Regions from separate parts of the Homo sapiens genome. Here region 1 is linked to region 2. Evidence: promoter capture Hi-C in 16 types of primary human blood cells and fetal thymus (Javierre and others, 2016). All regions are on one chromosome and are shown on one strand. The core of a region is centred on a gene start or on the middle of the fragment in contact, and the rest is flanking DNA. Distances in the headings are between cores, read along the strand shown.

Region 1 (4,057 bases), core at 1,321-3,820, 300 kb before region 2:
TGTAGTCCCAGCTACTCAGGAGGCTGAGGCAGGAGAATTACTTGAACCTGGGAGGCAGAGGTTGCAGTGAGCCGAGACCATGCCACTGCACTCCAGCCTGAGTGACAGAGTGAGACTCTGTCTCAAAAAAAAAAAAAAAAATCAATTGACCATAGATGGGTTTATTTCTGAATGTTCAATTTTATTCTATTGATTTTTGTGTTTTATCTTTCTGCCAATACCACATTATTTTGATTACTGTGGCTTTGTAGTAAGTTTGTTCTTTTTAAAGATTGTTTTGGCCACTCAGGGCCCCTAGCATTTCTATATAAATATTAGAATATGTTTTTCTATTTCTGCAAAAAAAAAAAGGGCAGTGAAATTTTAATAGGGATTGTATTAGATCTGTAGGTTAATTTTGGGAGTATTGCCATTGTATTAGTCTATTCTCACGCTGCTATAAAGAAATACACGAGACTGGGTAATTCATAAAGAAAAGAGGTTTAATCGGATTATGGTTCCACAAGCTGTACAGAAGACGTAGTGGCTTCTGCTTCTGGAGAGGCCTCAGGAGGCTTCCATTCATGGCGGAAGGCAAAGGGGGAGTGAGGAGCTTCACATAGCCAGAGCAGGAGAGAGGGGGTGGTGATGCACACTTCTAAACAACCGGATCTCCTGAGAACTCACTGTAGGGTACCAAGCGGGGATGGTGCTAACCCATTTATGAGAACTCTGCCCCTATGATCCAATCATTTCTTACCAGGCGCCACCTCCAACACTGAGGATTACAACTAGACATGAGATTTGGTTGGACACAGATCCAAACCATATGAGCTATATTAACAATATTACATCTTCCAATCCATGAACCATGCATGGACCATTCCATTTGTTTAGGTCTTCTTTAATTTCCTTCAATACTGTTCTGTGGTTTTCCATCTACCAGTCTCACACTTCCTTGGTTAAACATGTTTCTTTTATCCCTTCAGATGTTGTTGTAAATAGAATTGTTTCTTTAATTTCATTTTTGGATTGGGGCAGTCTTTTGAAATAAGGACATGAGTGGGAAAAAGCAGAGGATGGCTGTTGACGCCTAGAGAAAAAAGTATAAACACAGAGAAAAAAAAAACAGAAGCCAGAAATTACATAAAAAGGAAGGCACCGGGAAAGATGAGAAAGAACAGGGTTGTGGGAGTACTACACTTAGCAAATGCTTAAGCAAAGTCAAGCTTTCAAGACAAGATTCCTAAAGCAAGGCAGGAGTATCCTAGGACAGACAAAAGCTCACTCGACAAGGCAAAGAGACAAACACCAGAGTTTGGACCCCACCAACTCCCTTAGCCAGCTGGCAATATGGTTTCACCACTTCTTAGAAAAGAGGAATGGAGAGGTGTCCTCAAAAGCCACCACTAGGCTTTCAGAATGTTTTGTGTGTCTGTGTCTTGGCAGAATGAGCCAAACGTACTTTCTTCGTGCCCCATAAGATGAGACACACCCAGCAAAGGCTGTCCTCATACAGAACTACCTCCAGGTGTCTTTTATACTGCAAGACCTGCACCAAAGGGTTCTACCTATAGAAATCCTAGCACCTAGACATAGTCAACCAAGTACATGGCTCCCTCACCCTCCAACCAAAGATGCCATATTTCCATCAGAGTGGAACAAAATCCCACTGTGTTCCTAATGCCTCCTGCAATTTTGCATGTGGGAGACATGGCTGGTATGTGACATTCTCTTCTACAGATTGTAATGGATTGGGGAAGGAGGGGGAACTAGAGTTCAGGCCTATCTTTCTAGAGGACAAAATAAATATGCCTTGATAACTGCAATTATCTGAAAACTATTTCAAAGAAAACTCTTTGTCTCATTCTGGCATTTGCTCAAGGGTATGGCTTTCCATCAGTCTCTCTGTCTCCATGTCTCTTTTACATACATATGTATGTGTATATGCGTGCGTATGTGTACATACATCCATACATATAGACATATTCTCTCTCTCTCCACACACACTCACACACCCCTCCAACCTCTGTGGCTCTGAGCGTCATGTGTGTAAGACACTGACGCGAATGGTGAGTGCCTAGGCAGGGGTCAAACAAAGGCTACCTACCATGCCAGAGGATTGCCACAAACACCTCTTAAGCAAGCATATTCCTTGGCTCCTCCCAGACACACTGAATCTGAATCTCTAGGATTCTGATTTCGGAGCCCAGGAATCCTCCGGTGCAGGAGTTCCCAGGTGACTCTGATGCACCGGGAGGCTGGAGGCGCTCGGATCTAGAGAGGAGGCGGCACTTGTGCAGTGCAGTCGGGAAAGAGAGGAGGGGCTGGGCCGGTGCCTTTAGGCGGTCAGGTGTTAGGACCGGAGTACAAGCCGCCAGCCGCGCGGGAGCAGGCCCCGAGGCAGCCCAGCCGCGGGGCAGTAACCTTTAGCCACACTTGGCCTCCGGCCGCCGCCAGAGCCGCTCCGCCCCCGCCGCCTCGCCCCCACCGCCCCGCCCTCCTATTGGCCGCGTCCCCAGCCGGGCTCGCGGCCTCGGCCAATGGGGCCGGCGCGCGCCGGAAGCCGGAAGCGCGGCAGCGGCGGCGGCGCTCCCCCTCGGCAGCTGTTGTGGGGCACCATGCGAGGCTTCGGGCCAGGCTTGACGGCCAGGCGTCTCCTCCCGCTGCGGTTGCCCCCGCGGCCGCCCGGGCCCCGGCTGGCGAGCGGGCAGGCGGCCGGCGCCCTGGAGCGGGCCATGGACGAGCTGCTGCGCCGCGCGGTGCCGCCGACGCCGGCCTACGAGCTGCGCGAGAAGACACCGGCGCCCGCCGAGGGTCAGTGCGCGGACTTCGTGAGCTTCTACGGTGGGCTGGCCGAGACGGCCCAGCGGGCCGAACTGCTGGGCCGCCTGGCGCGGGGCTTCGGCGTGGACCACGGCCAGGTGGCGGAGCAGAGCGCCGGCGTGCTCCATCTGCGCCAGCAGCAGCGGGAGGCGGCGGTGCTGCTGCAGGCCGAGGACCGGCTGCGCTACGCGCTGGTGCCGCGCTATCGCGGCCTCTTCCACCACATCAGCAAGCTGGACGGCGGCGTGCGCTTCCTGGTGCAGCTGCGGGCCGACCTGCTGGAGGCGCAGGCCCTCAAGCTGGTGGAGGGGCCGGACGTCCGGGTAAGGGGCCGCCGTCGATCCCCCGGCAGCGCGGACTGGCCGCCCTCCTCGAGTAGTCCTCACTTGCCCCCTCCAAGTCCCACACACCCCGCCTTCCCTGCCCGATAGCACGCTCACTTCGCCCGCAGTTACCGCCTGCCAACTGTGTCCCCTTCCCACGCTGTCTGAGTCCTGGCCTCGTCAGAGCACACCCCCGCCTTCCTCCAGTCTGTCCTTGAAGTCCTCACTTGTATAGTGTTTACTAAATACTCAGCACTTGGTGGTCTTTAAGGTAGCTGTCACCTCTCGTACCTGATTAGTGTGTGCTCTACAGTCTTTTGAAATTATTGTAGCTGAGAAGTGTTTCATCTATATGGTATACCTGAACTAGAGCATCAGGCAGCCTTCTGAGACCCTGGATGGTGTTTCAGAAGTTCACTGGGCACCCGCTATGTGTGAGACATTGTCCTGAGAAGTCCTGTGAAATGCACAAAGGTAAATAGGACTCAAGGTCACCACCACCACCCAGGAGTCTCCATGGCTTCTGGCCTTGTCTGTGCTCCATGACTTTTGGGAGGGCATTTAACTCCCTGCGTTCAGTACTTAATGTGATGATTCTGAGTTGACTTGAGGTAATCAGGCATTAGCACAGTTCATTCATGTTAAATGCAGACACATACTTTGAGATTTAAATGATTATGACCCGAAAGAAGGCCTAGAGCAACATATACTCTTCTTTTATACTGTTAGTATTAAATACGGCGAAAAACTAACCTGCCCTTTTTTTATTTTTATTTTTGTTGCCCAGACTGGAGTACAGTGGTGTTATCACGGCTCACTGCAGCCTCGACTTCCCCAGGCTCAAGCAATCTTCCCACCTCAGCCTCCTGAGTAGCTGGGACTACAGGTGCAGGCCACCATGCCCGGCTAATTTTTTTTTTTTTTTTTTT
Region 2 (3,888 bases), core at 445-2,944:
GCAGCTGCTGTGCTGGCTGGCTGGAGTTCTCGGGCCAGCAGCTCCACGACTGCCATGGCCTGGTCATCGCCCGCAGGGCCCTGCTGAGGTGAGGGGCAGTGGGGTGGGCGCCTGATAGCAGCCTTCGCCAGGACAAGGTCTTCCCAACCACCCTGTGCCTGTCGCTCCTAGGTTCTTGTTCCGGCAGCTCCTGCTGGCCACACAGGGGGGCCCCAAGGGCAAGGAGCAGTCCGTGCTGGCCCCCCAGCCAGGGCCCGGACCCCCATTCACCCTCAAGCCCCGCGTCTTCCTGCACCTCTACATCAGCAACACCCCCAAGGGCGCGGCCCGTGACATCTAGTATGCAGGGCCCCCGGGGCAGGCGGGGGATGGGGCTCCCTCGGTTGGGCTGCTGGGTGGGGGCCAGGGTCAGAAGAGCAGCCCTGAAGCTGATGTCTGTCCCCACCCGGCCCGCAGCCTGCCCCCCACCTCGGAAGGTGGCCTCCCGCACAGCCCACCCATGCGCCTGCAGGCCCATGTGCTCGGGCAGCTGAAGCCTGTGTGCTACGTGGCGCCCTCGCTCTGTGACACCCACGTGGGCTGCCTGTCAGCCAGTGACAAGCTGGCACGCTGGGCCGTGCTGGGGCTGGGTGGTGCCCTGCTGGCCCACCTGGTGTCCCCACTCTACAGCACCAGCCTCATCCTGGGTGAGCACGTGGTGAGGGCTGGGGGGGTGAGAAGGGAGGGCAGGGAGGTCACTCACCTTGTCCTGTCCCTTCTGCCCTGCAGCTGACTCATGCCACGACCCTCCGACTCTGAGCAGGGCCATCCACACCCGGCCCTGCCTGGACAGTGTCCTGGGGCCATGCCTGCCACCTCCCTACGTCCGGACCGCCCTGCACCTGTTTGCAGGGCCCCCGGTGGCCCCTTCCGAACCCACCCCTGACACCTGCCGTGGCCTGAGCCTCAACTGGAGCCTGGGGGACCCTGGCATCGAGGTTGTGGATGTGGCCACCGGGCGTGTGAAGGCCAAGTGAGAAGGGCCCCCTGGGGCCGGGCTGTGGAGCAGTGCTGGTGATGGAGGGCTCATGCATGAGCTTCCTCACCTCAGTCTAATCCCAGCGCAACCCCTTCGCTCAACCCCTTCGCTCAACCCCTTCCTAGCTCCGTAGTGGTGGCCACACCTCTGTCTGCCCTGTGAGTCCTGTGACATTGTCACAGTGTGAGAGGAGGTAGTGTGAGGTGTGTAGCAGGCCTGCTGGTCCAGCTTGTATCTCTCTGATCTCAGTGGTATCCTCTCTTCATCCAGTGCCGCCCTGGGGCCTCCCTCCCGTCTCTGCAAGGCCTCCTTTCTCCGGGCCTTTCACCAGGCGGCCAGGGCTGTGGGGAAGCCCTACCTCCTGGCCTTGAAGACCTACGAGGCTGCCAAGGTTGGTTCCCCACCCTCCCCCCGTCCCGGTCCCTCTCCAGCCCTGCAGTCCCTGCCCCCTGCAGGTACCTCCTCTCACCCCACCTCTCATCTCCCGCCCTAGGCTGGGCCCTACCAGGAGGCTCGCAGGCAGCTGTCTCTCCTCCTGGACCAGCAGGGCCTGGGGGCTTGGCCCTCGAAGCCACTGGTGGGCAAATTCAGAAACTGAAGCCAGCCTCGGCGGGACCGAGGTCCCGGAGCCAAGCTGTACCCCTGCTGGGGGAGTGCCCTATCTGAGGAGCGTTGTGGGGAGAACATGGGTTGTGCGGGGTGAAACTGGGGCTGGAGGGAAGGAGGAGCCTGCTGTGGTTGGGAGGCGGCTGCTGCACGTTTGGGCTTGAATAAAGAAGTATTTCTGGTTCCTGTGTGTGTAGTTGGCTGTGTGTGTGTGTGTGTGTGTGTTTATGTGTTGGGGTGGCCAGGGGCCCTTTGTTTGCGGAGAGAGCCCCTCACTCCTCCTTTGGGAGGCCCTGTGTTCACTGGGTTCCCACCTGGATCCTCTCACTGAGCCACTGAATTGTCACCCCCGCCCCTGTTCACAGGGCTGGAGGCAGGTTTAGGAGGGGAGGTGACCTCCCCTGGTTCCTCCTGTTTTCCAGCCTGTGTGCTGGAGGAGACCACGGAGGCCACGGGTTGCGGGTGTTGTAAAGGGTGGGAGGGCAGGCTGCTTGGATGTGTGAGCATTTTGTCCTCTGGCCGCTATTGGGGCTCCAAATCCTTGCCTTTCTGGGCCCCCAGGATGTGTGGGAGGGCAGAGAACACCCTTCCCTGGTCAGAGCTTTAGCTGCCCTGGCCCTCGAGGGTGCTGTGGGGTCTGGGCAGCCCCATGTTGAAGGGCGTGGGGAGGGCATGAGCAGCATCAGTGCTTTCCCTGGGCCGCCCGGCTGTTGGACCTGGGCGAGGCATTGGACCGCTAGAGCCTGCGTCTTCCACCATGGAGAGGGACAGTGCTCCTGCCCTGTGTGGGCTCGGCAGTTCTCTCTCCGTTTCCCCCAGGGTAGCATAGTAAGGCCACATGGCACTCAGGCACTCTGTTGACTCTGGATGGGGAGAGAAGATGGTAACACTAAAAGCATGTGTGCGTGCACACTCGCACACACACCTGGAACCTCACCAGCATGGGCACTATAGCCGTTGAGCCAGGAGCACAACAGCTTTGAAGTCCAGGGACCTGGGGCCAGGGACAGTAGAGGACCGTGGCCAGCCCTGTGACCCCCACCCTGTGACTCCCTCCCTGCATCCCTAGCAGTTGCAGGGTTCAGAACCACAGGCTACTCTCCCATGTGGGGTGTCTCTGGGAGGGATTAGCATCTAATTATGGGGCTGAGTAAGAAGATGGCGCTCCCCAGTGCAGGCAGGCACCATCCAATCCACTGAGGGCCTGCAAACAACAAGCAAGCAGAGGAAGGTGAATTCGCTCTCTCCCCTTGAGCTGGGACATCACAACTCCTGGGTCTCTGGCCTTCAGACTTGGACCAGGACTCATAACATTGGTTCTCCCAGTTCTCAGGCCTTCGAGTTTGGACTAGAACGCCACCACGTGGGCCCCCAGCACTCACACAGCAAATGGTGGGACTGCTTCGACTCCGTATCGTGTGGGTCAATGCCTCGCAATACATCTCTATATATCCTGTTGGTTCTGTTTCTCTGGAGAACCCTGACCGATGCAGACAGCTCACTCCAGAGCTGTCACTCAGGGCCAGGCCTAATGTTGAAGTCGTGCGATTGGGTCCTCTCCCTCCAACCCCCTTTTGTCTCTGCCACTGGGTGTGTGTGGCCGTGGCCACGGGCAGCCACTTAACCTCCGTGCTTGTAGGTTGACTCATCTAGAGAAATAATCAGAGGGCTGGTCCCAGGGGTGTGTTCTTGGCCAGCCTGCCCATCTGCAGGCCTGGGCTTTCCGTCTGCTTTCGCTGGGCTCATCCTGTCTCCTTTCCCCACAGTGACGATGAAATGGGAGAATCTGAGGGAGGTGGGGTAGAGGAAACAGCACCAGTGGACAGACTAGACAACTCCAGCACGCCTGAAGCATGGTGTGTCTGTTCTGTTTTAACCTCCCACAGCTTGCCATGATAGATGCGATCATTGCCTCAGTGTACAGGTGAGGAAACTGGCAAGGTGCAGTTAGGTAACTTCTAGAACACCCAGCACCTGAGGTGGGCTGGAGCTGTGGTGATGTGCAGGCCGCCAGGCTTCCAAGCCCTTCGATTGCAGCCACCACCCAGGGCTGCAGCTGGATTTCCTTACGTGACCTTGGATGAAACTCTGAACCTCTCTGAGCCCCAGTTTGCTCATTTATAAAACAAGGACTAGGTGATATCCTTCCTAAGGTTCCCTCGCGTTCTCTGCTCTGCTCTTTCCCGACTGCTGCAGGAGGTCAGGAGGATGCCCAGTGCTATTACAGGGAAGAGCTGCAGGCTGGCAGCCTGCGGGGAGGCGAG

What was found. The method cuts DNA at HindIII sites, captures the fragments that hold promoters and counts their contacts. A CHiCAGO score of 5 or more calls a contact.
Region 1: a contact is called between the fragment with the promoter of MLYCD here and the fragment with the promoter of ADAD2-AS1 in region 2, in 5 of 17 cell types (total CD8 T cells, neutrophils, naive CD4 T cells and 2 more). The highest score is 6.8, in total CD8 T cells.

What each region holds. Positions count from the first base shown.
Region 1 is chr16:83,896,545-83,900,601 of GRCh38, forward strand. MLYCD (malonyl-CoA decarboxylase) reads left to right here and starts at 2,571. Exons shown (of 5, transcript NM_012213.3): 1 at 2,571-3,128. The coding sequence starts at 2,601. RefSeq lists silencers at 2,341-2,770, 3,071-3,240. The HindIII fragment of the contact is 8,175 bases long and covers 1,207-4,057 here.
Region 2 is chr16:84,195,359-84,199,246 of GRCh38, forward strand. ADAD2-AS1 (ADAD2 antisense RNA 1) reads right to left here and starts at 1,695. Exons shown (of 5, transcript NR_147175.1): 1 at 1,524-1,695; 2 at 1-83. ADAD2 (adenosine deaminase domain containing 2) reads left to right here. Exons shown (of 10, transcript NM_001145400.2): 5 at 1-88; 6 at 172-339; 7 at 457-686; 8 at 769-1,012; 9 at 1,289-1,409; 10 at 1,512-1,808. The coding sequence ends at 1,616. RefSeq lists enhancers at 1-147, 303-925. The HindIII fragment of the contact is 32,016 bases long and covers 1-3,888 here.